2 separate regions of the Homo sapiens genome follow, and region 2 is linked to region 1. The links are contacts of gene promoters, found by promoter capture Hi-C in blood cells and fetal thymus (Javierre and others, 2016). All regions are on one chromosome and are shown on one strand. The core of a region is centred on a gene start or on the middle of the fragment in contact, and the rest is flanking DNA. Distances in the headings are between cores, read along the strand shown.

What was found. The method cuts DNA at HindIII sites, captures the fragments that hold promoters and counts their contacts. A CHiCAGO score of 5 or more calls a contact.
Region 2: the fragment with the promoter of ZNF202 here is called in contact with the fragment with the promoter of PUS3 in region 1 in 1 of 17 cell types (naive CD4 T cells); the score reaches 6.4 in naive CD4 T cells.

What each region holds. Positions count from the first base shown.
Region 1 is chr11:125,901,549-125,905,269 of GRCh38, forward strand. PUS3 (pseudouridine synthase 3) reads right to left here and starts at 1,658. Exons shown (of 4, transcript NM_031307.4): 1 at 1,622-1,658. It overlaps DDX25 (DEAD-box helicase 25), which reads left to right and starts at 2,960. Exons shown (of 12, transcript NM_013264.5): 1 at 2,960-3,032; 2 at 3,664-3,721. The coding sequence starts at 2,970. The HindIII fragment of the contact is 3,679 bases long and covers 1-2,370 here.
Region 2 is chr11:123,739,573-123,743,293 of GRCh38, forward strand. It overlaps ZNF202 (zinc finger protein 202), which reads right to left and starts at 2,088. Exons shown (of 9, transcript NM_003455.4): 1 at 1,977-2,088; 2 at 845-964; 3 at 545-620. RefSeq lists enhancers at 1,474-1,683, 2,673-3,270 and silencers at 1,864-1,993, 2,034-2,083. The HindIII fragment of the contact is 6,844 bases long and covers 1-3,721 here.

The DNA.
Region 1 (3,721 bases), core at 408-2,907:
AAGTTCTAACATAAAGGTGAATGACCTTGACCGTTACTATCTGCGAAAATCATTTTCCCTGTAACATTTAAAGCCACATAATTCACACATTCACCCAGTTCTATTTGTTAGGCATTTGTCTGGAAAAGAAGTAATCAATGACTCAGGTACATGTAGGATATACTCACCGCAAAAAAGTAGAAACTGCAAACTGTCCACCAACAGTGGAATAGTAAATGTCTTTAAAGACATTAGAATATTAAATAGTCATTGGGAATCTTGGGAAAGTAATATGGGAAGGTGAAATTAAGTGACATGAATGTATCATAAACTATACAGGATGATCTCAGTACACACAGGGAAAGATCAAAACCTAACGAGTAGTGGGATTAAAGGTAATTTGTATTTATACCTCGACTTTTTATGAGGTCAAAAATTACATGGTGATTTTAACATGCAAAACACTCCAGTGATTATTTGGATCTCAAAGTCCAACATTACCAAAGTCTCCAAAGTTCAACTCCCGTGCTAACTAAAGAACTAGGCCAGGGAGTGAGTCTAGTTGGTCATAAGGCAGATTTGTGGCAAAAACAGGACTTGGTACACTACAGTGCTTTTTCCAGCACACCTTACCCTAATTCAGGGTGAAGTGCAGGAGTTCCCAAGCAGACGTTTAAAGTAACACCCTGGCCAGGGCTGCGAAGTAACCACAGAGAGGGAATTCGTGTGTCCCCTAAGCACCAATTACAAACTAAAACGGCCATCACCAGATGTTCCATACATTGGGCCAGGCGCCGTGGCTCACGCCTGTCATCCCAACATTTTGAGAGGCCAAGACGGGGTGGTGGCGGGGGGGAGGGGGGGTCGCTCGAAGTCAGGAGTTCGAGACCAACCTGGGCAACACAGCGAGACCGTGTGTTAATTAAAAAATTAAAAACTAGGCTGCCAAGATGGCGCACGCCTGCAGTCCCAGCTAGTTGGAGGCTGAGGTGGAAGGATCGCTTGAGCCCAGGAGGTAGAGGCTGCAGTGAGCAGTGATCACGCCACTTCACTCAGCCTGGGCGACAGTCTTAAAAAAAAAAAAAAAAAAGTCCTAATCTCAGGAACCAGTGGGTTAACACATAAATAGCATTCCTCTTGATAAACTTTATATTAATCCAAAGGGAAGAAGAGGGAGTACTGTCCAAAGGATTAGCAGACACGCACTATGATCACTAGAAAGCAATCGTGGTCTGTATGTAAGGCAATCCCCAAAATAATTTGAAAATTGCTGCCACAGCCTCCCACATACTCCTGGGTTCTCAACTTCTACTGTTTTATGAGCACCCAATTCTAAGTGGGGCAGCAGAGCACTTTTGTACTCCACAGTACAAGTACCACTGAAGCTCCCGTCACAACGGAATTAAAGACGACCCTACTGCGGCGAGTTTCCACCGAGAGCTCCAGAAAGTACCAGGCACAAAAGAAAAATACATGGTCTTAAGCGAGGTCTCATTTCCATACGGCAATGCTTTCCTGAAAAGACCAAAGTATGTGAAAGAGGGCAAAAAGAAGACAACAGACAACCGTTCAGCAGTGTGTCCATTTGTCCCTTCCCCTGTGGAACCCAGAAAGTAACCCACTCCAAAAATCCCACACTTACTTTCCGGCAGCCGGCCGCGCCGCGTTTCCGAGAAAGGAAGCTGTCACTGTGCGTCTTCTGCGCAGGCGCCCGAGCCCTCATGGGAGGTGTAGTCCAAGTTTGTGGGAAATGTAGTTCTGAGAACCGAGCTTGGTGCTAGAATCTACCTGAGGTTTTCTAGTCCAGCTACCGTTTCTCCGCCCACAGGGCAGAATCTGGGCCTGTGGCGGGACAGCAATAAAAGGAGGAATTGTAGTGCTACGCTAAAATAATAGAAAAAAGGTAATTTTTCAAATTCTGCTATCCTTATACGAAAACTAAAAGATTGAAGATCTTGGCTCGATTTTATACCTAGTTAAATGAGAAGAAAGTTACCATTGAGAGACAAAAACATTTACTATTAGAATTCAAATTAAAAGCTGAAATGAATATGATAATCTCAAAACAAACGACTAGGTGCCCTGAGAGTGACCGAACAGAGCGGGGAGCGTTGCTTCAGCACCACGGAGAGATCATGACTGCAGTTTCGTGTGGGTTTTTGTATTTTTGCCCCCAATTCCAGAAATGCTGATCAAAATCTCAAAATTACAATTAGAAAACTGGGGGGCGGGGGGGAGGTGGAATTTGGTTCTTTCGTCCAAATTGAGCGGTCATTAAATCATTAGTACCAGGGATCCAGGGATCTATACCGGATTATGCAAACGCATGTAGGACGTAGAGGTTATACCGAAAGGTAATGTTTTTAACAAGAGACCACATTTCAGAATAAAAGCTTTAAAAAGCCTATGTGGAACATCACAGGTATCTAGGGCAGGAACAGCAGTTAGAGCTTGAACAGTTCTGCTTCCTTTCCGCAACTGTGGCATTCGAGGTCATTCGTCATATCAAATTCATCAGATTTTGTCTCCACTTTGCTAACCAATTCGCTAACCTTTCTGACATCTTGTGATGTGGAGGCGGAAATTTCCAGGGAAACCGACACGGGGCGTAAAGCGCGGCGGGGAGTCCGGGGGGCTCCCGCCTGGAGGGCTGTGTGAGCGGCGGGCCGCGGGGCGGCGCGGGGGGCGCTCTCCACTCTGCGGAAGCTGCCCCCTCTGCCCTCCGGTCCGCGCCCTTTCGCCCCGCTCTCTGCCCTCCGCCCCGCTCTCTGCCCTCCGCCCCGCTCTCTGCCCCCCGCCCCGCTCTCTGCCCTCCGCCCCTTCCGCGCGCCACCCAGCCTTCCAGCGCCTGCGCGCCGCACCGCGGTGGTCGCGGGCGCGGACGCGGACGCCTGCCCCCTAAGGAAGCCCATTGGCCAGCGGATGGGGCCAGCACCGCCTCGCGCCGGTGGTGGAAGCACGTGCTGGGGGCGGGAGCAGCAATCGCAGCCATGGCGTCGTTACTGTGGGGAGGCGACGCAGGGGCGGCGGAGAGCGAGCGGCTGAACAGCCACGTAACCGCCACCGAGCCGGGGGGCCACAGCCGCGGGGGTGGAGCTCCCACTCGCAGAGGGAGATCGGCTGGGAGGGGAGGGAGAGCCCGCGAGCGTTCGAAGTGGGGCGTCAGATGCTGGAGGGGAGATGCGGGAAGGGTTTGGAAGAGGGCCACAGAGGGAGACCCCGTCCCCACCCCCACGAGAGGCAAGACCTTTGGTTAGAAAGGGCAAAAATGACGACCCCTGGAAATCCAGGGTGGGAACGCAGCTGGTAGTCCCAGCTAGACCCCGAGTTTTCTACTCTGCCCATTTGCCCATTAAGCCTCACCTCGCTTCCATCCATTTGCCAGCGCACTTTCCTAGCCACCCTCCCCTTGTTGGTGCCGTGAGCCCCAAGTACTGCCCAACTCTAAACTAGAGGCCTAGGAAAGAGAAACTGCATGTACAGGGAATACAGAAAATCTCCAATTTTAGGGTAACTCATACAGGAAACCCAACCTTGAAAGGAATCTGCTGCTACCTAATATTGCAAAGGAAGCAATACCCGGGTGTCCTTCCCTGAATCCCTCCCAGCCCCTGTGGTAGGGAAGCACTGGGCTGCTTGAGGGCTTGCATCCTAATATTGGTTGAAATTTGTGTCTCTCAATAGTTTTCAAACCTCAGCCAACCCCGGAAGAACCTTTGGGGTATTAAGAGTACTGCAGTCC
Region 2 (3,721 bases), core at 838-3,337, 2.2 Mb before region 1:
AAGAACTTATCAATATTTCACCTCAAATTTGGCATATAGCATTCAGTTGTTTTAAGTACGCTTTCTTAATTTTGCGAACAAAATATTCAGACCTAAGTGATTATCTATAAAAGATCAGATTACTAGTTTCCAACACAGAAGTACTCAAACAAAGGTATTCTGAACCTCAACCTACTGCAATACATATATCACATTTGGCCAAAAGGTAGTTGTTCTCAAAGTGAAGAACCCAGATCTGCAGCATCAGTACCTGAGCCTTGTTAGAAGTACAAATTCTCAAGCCCCAGCACAGACCTATTACCAGAAACTCTAGGGGTGGGCCCCAGCAATATGCGTTTAACTAGCCCTTCAGGTGCTTATAGTAAGTTTGAGAACCACCACCTAGCAAATGAAGTAAATCTGAAGTTCATGCAGAAAGCCATTGCTGGCCAAACTAAAGGGTTTGCTGGTGAGAGAACAGCAAAAACAAGGGGTATAGAACTGTTTCACATTTTAAATCTGTGCCAAATTTACTGGGAAAAAAAAATGTAAACCTGTAACTTACCTCATCTGTACAATTTGCAATGGCTGAGTCCCTCACATTGTGGTAAACCTTGTTGTACCCTTGGAATGATTGTCTACTGCAATATAGTATATACACAGAGTACAAAAAGGGTATAGCTGGAGGAGAAAGGGTGAAAGATTATGAATCCCAGGCGTTTGGTCCTAGGAGGAAAAATTCCTGTCCTCTCTCCAACCCTGCCCACCCTCTTATGCTAGATAGTAACAGCAGAAAGTTATCCCAGACTGCTCCGCGTTCACACGCTTCCCACCAACAAACCTCCTCCCAAGGCTATCCCACAACCTTTCTGAAGTAGCTTCCTGGATCAAGCCCCACGGGGCAGCTTGGAAGAGAAGCTGGGAGGGATGAGGGGCTCCACTAGCATTCCTTGTGGCTTCTGAGTGTAGCTGCCCTGGGTGTCACCTGCAGAGCGTGGATAGAGAAAAAGCAACAGTTCTAAGCCCAGCCTCTAATTGAGAGCCTGGGATCTAGCGCTGCTCCCCAGGACCAAGGTTGTTCAAGAAAGGCTGGGTCTAAGAGTCTCCCTCTGGGGAGGTCAGTACAGATTCCAAGGCAGACAGGGTTATCAAAGCGCCTAGAAGATGAGAACATTCATTGTTCAGAAAAACAAAAATTAGACTGACACCTTTCTGAAGGAACACAGCCTATCCATGGCACAAAAACAAATTTTTAATCAAGACACTCAAGAAGTAGGTATACTCCTGCTAAAAGTAACGCAGGTGCTGAGAAGAGGTGCCAAAACTGGCTGTTAGGAGTGGGAGGAGAGGAAAGTTGCAAGTGGAGACAGCAGCTACTGGCTTGAGGGGACCTCAGGGTCTGTCACAGTGGCAGCTGAAAAGCCTCTGGCCAAATGGACGCCAAGGACTACTATCATCACAGGTGACAAGATCACGGGTGAGTGTATCTGGGTGTGTGCTGGGGGGCTGAGGGGGGCTTGGTGGTGTAAGGAGATGGGGCTAGCCGGGGCAAGGAGCCCGCGGAGATGATCTTAAGCAATCTGAGAGGAGGGGTAAGAAAAAGCTGCGGAAAATAAAGGGGCCTAGACCACTCCTCCCTCGGTTCCGGGGGGACAGTTGGCGCGGAAGCGTTAGGAGGTACGAGGTACGGACTAACTACATTTCTGCAGGCCCCAGGAGGGGGCGGAGGGCGGTGGCTGGAAAGGAAAGGAAGCCGGGAGCGCCATCCGTGTCCCCGGAGATACTGGCTCCGGCCACCAGGAAACACAGAGACCACAACGTCTCGGCACCCTCAGTACACCGCCGCCACCCCTTCCCCAGGACACGGCGATTTCCCCAGACTCTGGGGGGCGGGGTCTCCGGTCCCTCCCCCTCCTCCCCGCCCTGCCCGGCTCTGCCCGATCTGGTCCGGCCCGGTCCAGCCCGGCCCGGCCCAGCCCAGCCCACTCAGGACTCACGGCTCCGACAGCTCCGGCGGCTCCTCCCCTGCCCCGGCTTCTCTCCCACCCACTCCCGACCGAAACAGCGCCGCCGGATCCGAGCCGCGCGGGGCCTAGCGGGTCGGAACACGTGGGGCCTTTGCGCCCGGAACCGGAAGCGATCGCTCGCCCCGCCTTCTCGCCGAGTAGGAGCCTTTCTAGGCTGTGGGAGGTTTGATCCTCTCTATGCGCCCTCCGCGGGTTGCGGCTCAGTGCTCCCCAAGGACCCAGTGCGAAGAAGCCTCGGACCCCACAGCTGCCGTCCGCGACCCCTAACTCCACTCTGCAGCGAATAAATTAACATCTTGGGCCTTTCATTTACAGGCATACCTTCTGCAAGGGTTTTCTTTTTCTTTTCTTTTTTCTTTTCTGTTTTTGATCTTTTGTGTGTTTGTTTTCATTTGGATACCTCTACGTGTTTTTCTTGATTTTTTTTTCTTTGCATTGTCCGCTGCAACATGGTAGAAAAGGGCAGCGTTAGGTTTGAATACTGGCTCTTGCAGTCACCATCAGCAGCAGGGCCTCGGCCGAATCTCTCCATCTTTGAACCCTATTGTGCATCATATAAAACGGGCATAATAATACCGTTACTCTGAGGACTAAATGATACATTGCACATGAACTGAATGGAACATCAGAAGCTCAGAAAGAAAATAGTTATGGTATCACTGTTCTTTCTTTTCCTTTGAGTGTTGCTTCGTATTTCTTTACTTTCAGGCTGTCTTCCCTGATCTCATTTGTTCATTTTTGTCCGTTCGGTGACCTTTCTGCCCATACTTGACATTTTCCTTTGCTCTCTGTCCCTTTTACCCTGTAAGTCACCACTCTCCACGTGCCATGTGCCACTTCCTTTTCATGGGACACATTGCTGGGATCTGTTTACTGGGTTTGAACCAAAGGATTAGTTACTTTTGGTGGAGTGGCAGTGTATTAGCGAAACAGAACTAATAGGTGTGAACCCAGAAGGCAGGACAACTCAAAGCGGGGAGGGGGCTTCCAGGTCATAGGTAGATAAGACACAAATGGTTGCATTGAGTTGCTGATTAGCCTCTCCGGAAGGAGGCAATCAGATATGCATTTATCTCAGTGAGCAGAGAGGTGACTTTGAATAGAAGGGGAGGCAGGTTTGCCCTAAGCAGTTCCCAGCATGAATTTTCCCTTTAGTGATTTTGGGGGCCCCAAATCACTTTCCTTTCACACGGGGTATGTATAAACATATAAAAGGAGATTTATTATAAGGAGTTGGCTTACATAATTATGGACGTTGAGAAGTCCCACCATCTGCTTACTGCAAGCTGGAGAAATAAGGAGGTTGGTGGTATAATTCAGTCTAAAGCTGAAGGCCTGAGAACTGGAAAGGGATTGAGGTGCTGGTGTCTGAAGGCCAGAGAGCAGGAGGAGATGATGTCCCAGCTCAAGAAGAGAGAGGTGAATTTACTTTTCCTCTGCCTTTTTATACTATTTGGGCCCTCAATGGATTGGATGGTGCCTACGCATAGTGGTGAGAGTGATTTTCTTTACTCAGTCTACTGATTCAAATGCTAATCTCTCTCTCTTTTTTTTTTTTTTTTTTTTTTTTGGACAGAGTCTTGCTCTGTCGCCCAGCGATCTCGGCTTACTGCAATGTCTGCCTCCTGGGTTCAAGCAATTCTCCTGCCTCAGCCTCCCGAATAGCTGGGATTACAGGCATGTGCCACCATGCCCAGCTATTTTTTTTTTGTGTG